Linked DNA regions of Homo sapiens: all the other regions are linked to region 2. Evidence: promoter capture Hi-C in 16 types of primary human blood cells and fetal thymus (Javierre and others, 2016). All regions are on one chromosome and are shown on one strand. Each heading gives the region's core, a stretch centred on a gene start or on the middle of the fragment in contact. The rest is flanking DNA. Distances are from core to core; before and after follow the strand shown. Region 1 has its middle 8.3 kb from the start of CRIP3. Region 2 holds the start of TJAP1 (tight junction associated protein 1). Region 3 holds the start of SLC22A7 (solute carrier family 22 member 7).

Region 1 (2,700 bases), core at 155-2,654, 160 kb before region 2:
TCCCAGGTTCAAGTAATTCTCCTGCCCCAGCCTCCCTAGTAGCTGGGATTACAGGAGTGTGCCACCATGCCCGGCTAATTTTTGTATTTTTAGTAGAGACAAGGTTTCACCATGTTGGCCAGGCTGGTCTTGGACTTTTGACTTCAAGTGATCCACTCACCTTGGCCTCTCAAAGTGCTGGGATTACAGACATGAGCCACCACCCAGCCCATCATCTTTATTATTGATAAAGGACAGGTTGTAGTTTAGAAAGTGAAATAAATATGGTAACTTCCTGCCTACCTCCTCCACTCCAATCTGGGCTTTGTCTGCCCCCTTAGTCTGTGAGATCCATGAGAGCAGGGACCAGGCTGCTTTGCCAACCATTGCATATATTTCCAGTGCCTTGCTCAAATCTCTGGCACATAGTGCTCAACAAATACTTGCTGGTGAATGAATGTTACATGTTATATACAAGTCCCCCTGAGTGTGATAGATGAGTGCTAGTGAGAGATGTGGGAATAAGAGGGGACTGGTAGAGGTTGAGAGTTGGTAACAACGAGTGTCCTGGAGTGAAGGAAGTTCAGCTGCCTAGGAATAAGGTCTCAGGAATTTGTTTCCTTTTTTCCTTCAAGAGACAGGATCTTGCTCTGTCACCCAGGCTGGAGTACAGGTCACAGCTCACTGTAACCTGGAACTCCTGGGCTCAAGCAATCCCCCCATCAGTCTCCTAAGTAGCTAGGACTACAGCCATGTGCCACTGTACCTCGCTAATTTTTTATTTTTTGTAGAGATGGGGTTCCACTACGTTGCCCAGGCTAGTCTTGAACTCCTGGCCTGAAAAGATCCTCCTGCCTTGGCTTCCCAAAGCGCTGTGAGTCACTGTGCCCCGCCAGGAGTTTTGTTTCTCAATATACATGAGGATCAACATGTATGATACAAAACAGAAAATATAACTTAACTGATCCTGATTATAAATAGTAGGTAACTAATTAAGTAAATAGAGAACTGAAAATTTGCTTTTGGTAGCAAACAAGTCCCACCAATTGTAGTCATTCATAAGAACTTACTAATTAAGCTTAATTAGCATGTGGCACAATTATGTCTATCATTAATTATGTGGCAAATAAGAGAATGTGGGGAAGTGTTATGTAAACTATAAAGCAACCTTATAAATAAGGCTGCTATTATGTGTCAGGTTAGCTTTGCAGTGAATTTGATTACAACAACAAACTCCACCCATTTATGTCTTTGTAGGCTTGTTCAAGTACATGGTCATATGCCTGTGACTTTTTTTTTTTTTTGAGACAGAGACACACCCTGTAACCCAGGCTGGAGTGCAATGGCGTGATCTTGGCTGGCTGCAACCTCTGCCTCCCGGGTTCAAGCAATTCTCCTGCCTCAGCCTCCCAAGTAGCTGGGATTACAGGCATGCACCACCATGCCTGGCTAATTTTTTGTATCTTTAGTACAGATGGGGTTTCACTTTGTTGGCCAGGCTGGTCTTGAACTCCTGACCTTGTGATCTGCCCACCTTGACCTCCCAAAGTGCTGGGATTACAGGCGTGAGCCACTGTGCCCGGCCATGCCTGTGACTTTTAAGGCATTACCCAGAACTTTGTTCTTAGATAACTCTTTTGAAAGGGAAATCACTCAGTTCTGGTAAGTTAATGAAAAATCAGTCTTATTTCTTTATAGTTGTGTTTCTTAATCCTTACTACCCATAAACCTTTTGCTTTCTCATTGCATCTTCTGCATGTCTGCTCCAACTACAAAGCTTTACTTTCTGTAGTTTATATTACTTTTTAAAAAGGGAAACACACACAAAACAAAAAAAGACTGAATTTGCTTTCTTAAAACATACTAATCACCCCACCCACAGAGAACTGCTGCTGTATAGTTATAAACATCATTTATGGCTCTAGCAAGAGTCTGTTTAATTTTTTTCCCCCTCATTTTCCAGCATCATCTTGCCATTACATGAACCTGTTGAGAGTACTCTGTATAAAGCTAATAGTGGTTAGCTGCTTAGGGATATTGAGTAGGCTACATTTTGTGATTCAGTGGCATCAACTAGACTAATTCAGAATCAAGACTGCAGGAAAGGACACCCTAAACCTTTGCCATGAGTGCCTTCAACCTATGTTTGCGAAGAAATCAATAACATCTTTAAACGATGGTTTTTCATGCAAAGATGGATTTGGCTTTTCAAGTATTCACTTAGAAATGTGTATTTCATCTGAAAATATATAAAAATAACTACCTACAAATAATTTGCAGCATGAAAAATGTATCCATATGCTGGAAACTGAGGAGGAATAGAAAGAAGTGAAACTTGGTAGTCAGCTTGCTTATAAATCTGATAGATGGTGGCAATGCTCCGTGGAGTTGGCGTAAAGTCCTAGTAACTTCCTCATCTTCATGCTAAGGTCTGGAGGGTAATTTTTAAATAATATACAAAAATAGTCCTTACAGGTCATGAGACTATGTTAATGCTATGTTAATGAGGCTAAAACAGTTTAATCTTGTGATTCATACAAATGCAAATGCTTACCTTTCCATAGAGGAGTCTTTCATTTCCTCTATGAAGCTCAAGGTCACAGAATCAGGAGTCAAATTCCACCCTCTTCCCAAATCCAAAATGATTGGGCTTTTCCTCTTCTTCTCCTGGGCTTTTGGAACAGGCAGAGCTATAAAGCGCTTATTTGTAATTTCTACCCT
Region 2 (2,700 bases), core at 135-2,634:
TGGGAGGCTGAGGCAGGTGGATCACTTGAGGTCAGGAGTTCGAGACCAGCCTGGCCAACATGGTGGAATGGTGGAACTCCCATCTCTACTAAAAATACAAAAAATTAGCTGGCATGCGCCTGTAATCCCAGCTACACAGGAAACTGAGGTGGGAGAATCACTTGAACCCGGGAGGCGGAGGTTGCAGTGAGCCGAGATCGCACCACTACACTCCAGCCTGGGCAACAGAGTGAGACCCTGTCTCAAAAATTAATTAATTAATTAAACAAACAGAATAAAAAAAATCTATTGAATACCTACTATGCCAGGCATTGTTTTAGACACTGGGGATACTGTGATGAGCAAGAAAACATCCCAGACCTCTGGAGTTTGCTTTGTAGTGGGGAGATGATCAATAAACAATAAATATTTAATATAATGTCAGATAATGATAAGTACTATGAATGAAAACATTAAAGCAGGGTAAAGGAGAATAGGGATGCTGATTTAGATTGAGTGGCCAAGGAAGGCTTCTCTAAAGTGATGACACTTGAGCAAAGACACAAATGAGAGTCAATATTTGGAGGAAGAACATTCCAGGTATGGGGAATAGCAAATTTAGAGACCCTGAGGCAGAAATATGCTTAATGCATTGGAGGAAAACATGCCATTTATTCATTAGGCAATTATTGTGTGCCAAGCACCTGCTAGGGAGTATGAAGATGCAATCAAACATAGTTTTTGCCCTGAAGAAGCAGCAGGGCAAAAGTGGTATAACATGTAAATAAATAATTACACTGCACGGGACAGCTACAGTAAAGCTATGTACAAGTTGCTAGTGATGCCCAGCAAAAGGAGCACTAAAGGGAAATCTTTCTGGGGGAGGTGACATTTTAGCTGATGGTTTGAAGGAATAGGAGGAATTGATGATGCAAAGGAGGAGGAGAGAGATTAGACATCTTAAGGCCCGATGTCCTGAAAACAAAGGACAATTTGGGAACCTGAAGTTCCCAGGAGAGGCAAAAAATGAGGCTGATGAAGGTGGAAGAGCCTGGATCATGCGGATCTTTGAATGCCAAACTGAAAAGCTGGTTTTATTCTCTGGATGACGGGGAACCAGTAGCACGATTCTCTCTCCCACTGTATCTTTGAGATGTGTTCCCCTATTCTTTTTTTTTTTTTTTTTCTTTCAGTACTGGATTCTTTCCCCGCTTCCCGCTATTGCCCTGCTCCTGACACCTCCTTCCTTCTGTGGCCAGTCCTCCAATCCCTGCTTTCAGGAGAGCCCCATTTTTCACCATCACCTACCTAGTGTCCCACCTCCCCAACCCGAGGCCCCGCCCCCATGGCCCCGCCTCAGATGACGCGACACGCCAAGTGCGTGGGGATTCCCGCGGCCCTGGCCACTACCCGGCCTGCCCCGCGGCAAGATGGCGGCCTGAACGCAGCTGGCAGCGGCGGAAAGTTTGTTGTGGGGTTGGAGTAGTCGGGCGGGGAAGCCAGAGTTGGGGAGGATTGCGGGGGCCCTAGCCTGTAGTAGGGGCGAAGGGGGTACTGGCTCCAGGGTTGAAAAGAGGAGATGGAATGGAGTAAGGTCCGAGGCGGAGAGGAAAAAAAGGAGCTGGGGCGGACCGGGGCCCTAGGGTCCAGTGGCAGCCCTAGGGGAGGGGGATTTGGGGGCGGGGCAGCCAGAAGTAGGTGTTGTGCAGGCCCTGGAGAAGCAGAGTCACAAGTTGGAGGAAAATTTCTTAGCCGCGAATAAAGAAGCCTGGAGCGTGGGATAGAGGCCCGACTGTATCTGGCCGGCCAGAGGGGAAAGGGATCTTTCTAGTAGAGTGGGATAGTGAGGAAGAGAGATCTGGAGGATGCCGGGCAGATCTGCTAAGGAGGGAACTAAAGCCAGTCAAATGACCCTCTTCTAGGCTTAGATCAGCCTTTCCACAGCTGTTAGCAGCATCTGCCCCAATTTCAGCTGAAGATTCAGGTGCCCCAGGGACTGGAAGAAATTACAGTGCCTACTTGGAAAGAAGAAGAGATAGCGACTTGCCCCAGTCCAACCCCAGAGCGGGTAAGGTGGCTTCCAGTGACAGGTTTCTGGCTGGCATGCTCCCTGGGAGGAGGATGCATGGGCTTAGAGTGATGCCAAGAAACATTTGGTCTGAAAAGGGCTCACTTTTATAGAGTTTGTCCTTTGTCTGAGGTCCTTAAGTTAGTGTTTGGCGTAGATTGCAGGCTGACTTTTGAGAGTTGGTGTAGAATTAAGCCTTGTGTGCCTTCACCTATGCAAGTAAACCTGGACAGAGGCCTAGAGACCAGGCCGAAGGATGTTAACACATCCCTGTCACAAGCAGTTTCCTACATGCTCATTGTTTCTGCTTCAATATCCCCATCACTTCTTCACTTTGGCGTCCTGCCTGGAAGTGGAGATTTGTGGGTGACAGATGGTGGGGAGTCACGAGAAAACAAATTCTGATCGTGTTCACTGACCATTTAGGTACCTGCTGTCACTGACTCCTGAATTCATTCTCGCTGTGTGTCTACTTTTGCTTTTTTGGTAAGAAGGGCTCATTAGTGTTCCTCTGGGGATGTGGATTTTGGTGGGGGTATCAGAGGTGAGGGAAAGGCAGGTTGGGATTAGAGAGAAAAAATGTAGATCAGTTTCTGGTAAGAGATCAAGTGGACTGATGTAAAGCTCTGGGAATGTTTAGCACCGCACTGCCT
Region 3 (2,700 bases), core at 131-2,630, 180 kb before region 2:
CACTGTGGCCAGTGTATGGAGAATGGGTTGAAAGGGGTGAGACTGGAGACAGGGAGGGTTAGCTTATTTTAACCCTCCTGTAAGCTCCCTAAGGGTAGGGACCGTGTCTGAGGCATCTATGTACCCTCTAGAATGGCGAGGATGCACTAGAGACTCAAACATTTCTTCTCATTGTCACCCCCTGTCACTGCCACCACCATTAGCTGCCTCTTGCTTCACTCCATGGCTGTCAGCACCCCCATTAACACACGCCATGCCATCGATTTAGCTCCTTTCCCAGCGCTTTCTCAGGGATCCCAGCCTGGAGCAGACTGGGACATCACCAGCTCAGCAGCTTAGGTCAAAAGTGAGATTCCTGGTCTGGAGTCAGGGGACCTGGTCTTTTCTTCAGCTCTGCTGCTGAGTCATTGTGTGACCCCAGCAGGTCCCCTCCCTGTCTTTAGTTTTCTGACCTGTTCAAAGTAGGAGCTGGATTAAACCAGTGGGTCTGCCAGCTAAGTGTTTGGAGAATCAGATGAGAATAAACCAGACATTGCTGGTTTCTGCTGTACTTTTGCTGCAGGGACCATGATTGAGAATTGAGTGGGAGGGTCAGATTGAACATTTGAGTCTTAGGTATTGCATGTACCTTTGACAAGACCTTGGTAACTCCCCCTCCCCCATTCCCTACCCCTCCAAAAGGTAATCTTAGGCATTGCAGGTACCTTGGCAACATGTCCCCCGCCATTCCCTATCCCTCCAAAAGGTAATTTAGGAAGCTGCTGGAAATAGGGGAATGGGACAGGCAGTTGGAACCATATGTATGGGGAGAGTCCCTGAGTGAAGTGGGAATGGGATGAGCCTGGGATCCTCAGAGACATCAAGTTGCCCGGTGTGATCACAGGTGTGTCTTAGGCCAGGGCATCAGCTCCCAGCAGGGGAGAGGGATGCGAGGAGGCCTCATGGCTCAGCAGAAAGAAACCTGGTTAGGATCCAGCTTTCAGTCCTGAATCCTGGGCTGTCGGCCAGGCCATGGCTGTAGCTGCAAATAGGCAAGGCTGACCTAAGGTCTCACAGGACAAAGGGCACCCTGGGAGAGCTGGCCCCAGGCCCCAGGGGCCTCCTCTTCTTAGGGATCCTGGGAGCTCTGCTGACCAAGGGGCTAGGGGCTCACCTCCTATGCCATCACCCAGCTACCTCATCATGGTAGCCTTGGTCCCTGAACACTAATGGGTAAGCCCCAGAGCCACGAGCCAGTGACCTCTGAATGGATGGCTTCCCCTTCCCCCAGGCACCAGGCAAGACAGGTAGAGGTCCCTGGAGACCTGATGGCTGGGGAGGGCCCAGTCCTGGGCCAGCCCCTGAGGGCTGGATTCTGGCTGCAGGCTCTCCAGTCCATCCACTCCCACCTCCAGAGTCCAAGGGTCTATGTGGTGGGCAGTTTGAGCTGGCTGGATACTAGAGGGAGGCTGCACCTGAAGCATTTGGTGGGTGAGCAGCATGGGCTTTGAGGAGCTGCTGGAGCAGGTGGGCGGCTTTGGGCCCTTCCAACTGCGGAATGTGGCACTGCTGGCCCTGCCCCGAGTGCTGCTACCACTGCACTTCCTCCTGCCCATCTTCCTGGCTGCCGTGCCTGCCCACCGATGTGCCCTGCCGGGTGCCCCTGCCAACTTCAGCCATCAGGATGTGTGGCTGGAGGCCCATCTTCCCCGGGAGCCTGATGGCACGCTCAGCTCCTGCCTCCGCTTTGCCTATCCCCAGGCTCTCCCCAACACCACGTTGGGGGAAGAAAGGCAGAGCCGTGGGGAGCTGGAGGATGAACCTGCCACAGTGCCCTGCTCTCAGGGCTGGGAGTACGACCACTCAGAATTCTCCTCTACCATTGCAACTGAGGTACTTAAGCCCAGAAGTTGAGAGACATGTGAGAGGGATGGGCCTGCCATTGCCTTGGGTGGTTACTGTGTAGGCATTAGATGTATTACTTTACCTCTTAAAGTCTCAGTTTACCAATCTGTAGATGGGGGCTATGAATATAAGGCACTTTTAGTTCATGGCTTGTAGTAACAGGATCCTACACAAGAACTGTTATCATCATCATTAATTGGGAGGTGATTAAGGCAGGGAAGGGCTAAAGTGGCTTCAGGGAGTTGAGACAAAGAGCTGAGAAGGCAATTTCTGCAGCAAGAGGTGGAGAAACAATAGAGGCCTTCTTTTCTCCCTTCCTCTTTTCCAGTCCCAGGTCGGTATTTACATAATCCATCTGGAGGTGGAATGTCGGTGGAGGCAGTCTCCCTGGGAGGCAGCAGGTCGAGGCCTTCCTTGGGAAGAAGCTGAGGCTGCAGGACTGGGGAGGGACAAAGTTTCCTATTCCCCAAGCTGGCGTGAATCGTTGGGAGGTTTATTATCTGGCATGGAGGTACCAGAATGGCAGAGTTCGCCTCAGAAGGCTCCAGGGTCTGGAGAGGAGGAGCTGGTGCCTGCTGGAGAGGGGCTGATGTTCATAGGAGGTCCCTTTCTGCCTGTCCTTGCAGTGGGATCTGGTGTGTGAGCAGAAAGGTCTGAACAGAGCTGCGTCCACTTTCTTCTTCGCCGGTGTGCTGGTGGGGGCTGTGGCCTTTGGATATCTGTCCGACAGGTGGGGTGAGGCACTGGGCCAATAAGAAACTGGCTGGGGGAACTTTCTCCCACTAGCTGGGGTATGAGCCTAGTCTACCTATGCCT

What was found. The method cuts DNA at HindIII sites, captures the fragments that hold promoters and counts their contacts. A CHiCAGO score of 5 or more calls a contact.
Region 1: a contact is called between a fragment that was not itself captured here and the fragment with the promoter of TJAP1 in region 2, in 3 of 17 cell types (activated CD4 T cells, erythroblasts and naive B cells). The highest score is 6.1, in activated CD4 T cells.
Region 3: a contact is called between the fragment with the promoter of SLC22A7 here and the fragment with the promoter of TJAP1 in region 2, in 1 of 17 cell types (erythroblasts). The highest score is 5.7, in erythroblasts.

Annotation. Positions count from the first base shown.
Region 1 is chr6:43,315,769-43,318,468 of GRCh38, forward strand. No RefSeq gene overlaps it. Among named protein-coding and RNA genes, the nearest start is that of CRIP3, 8.3 kb to the left of the region's middle. The HindIII fragment of the contact is 699 bases long and covers 1,056-1,754 here.
Region 2 is chr6:43,476,186-43,478,885 of GRCh38, forward strand. TJAP1 (tight junction associated protein 1) reads left to right here and starts at 1,385. Exons shown (of 11, transcript NM_001350562.2): 1 at 1,385-1,443; 2 at 1,902-2,047. RefSeq lists an enhancer at 1,735-2,528. The HindIII fragment of the contact is 14,243 bases long and covers 1-2,700 here.
Region 3 is chr6:43,296,880-43,299,579 of GRCh38, forward strand. SLC22A7 (solute carrier family 22 member 7) reads left to right here and starts at 1,381. Exons shown (of 11, transcript NM_153320.2): 1 at 1,381-1,872; 2 at 2,213-2,218; 3 at 2,511-2,614. The coding sequence starts at 1,480. It overlaps LOC124901319 (a long non-coding RNA gene), which reads right to left. Exons shown (of 2, transcript XR_007059582.1): 2 at 2,063-2,700. The HindIII fragment of the contact is 22,683 bases long and covers 1-2,700 here.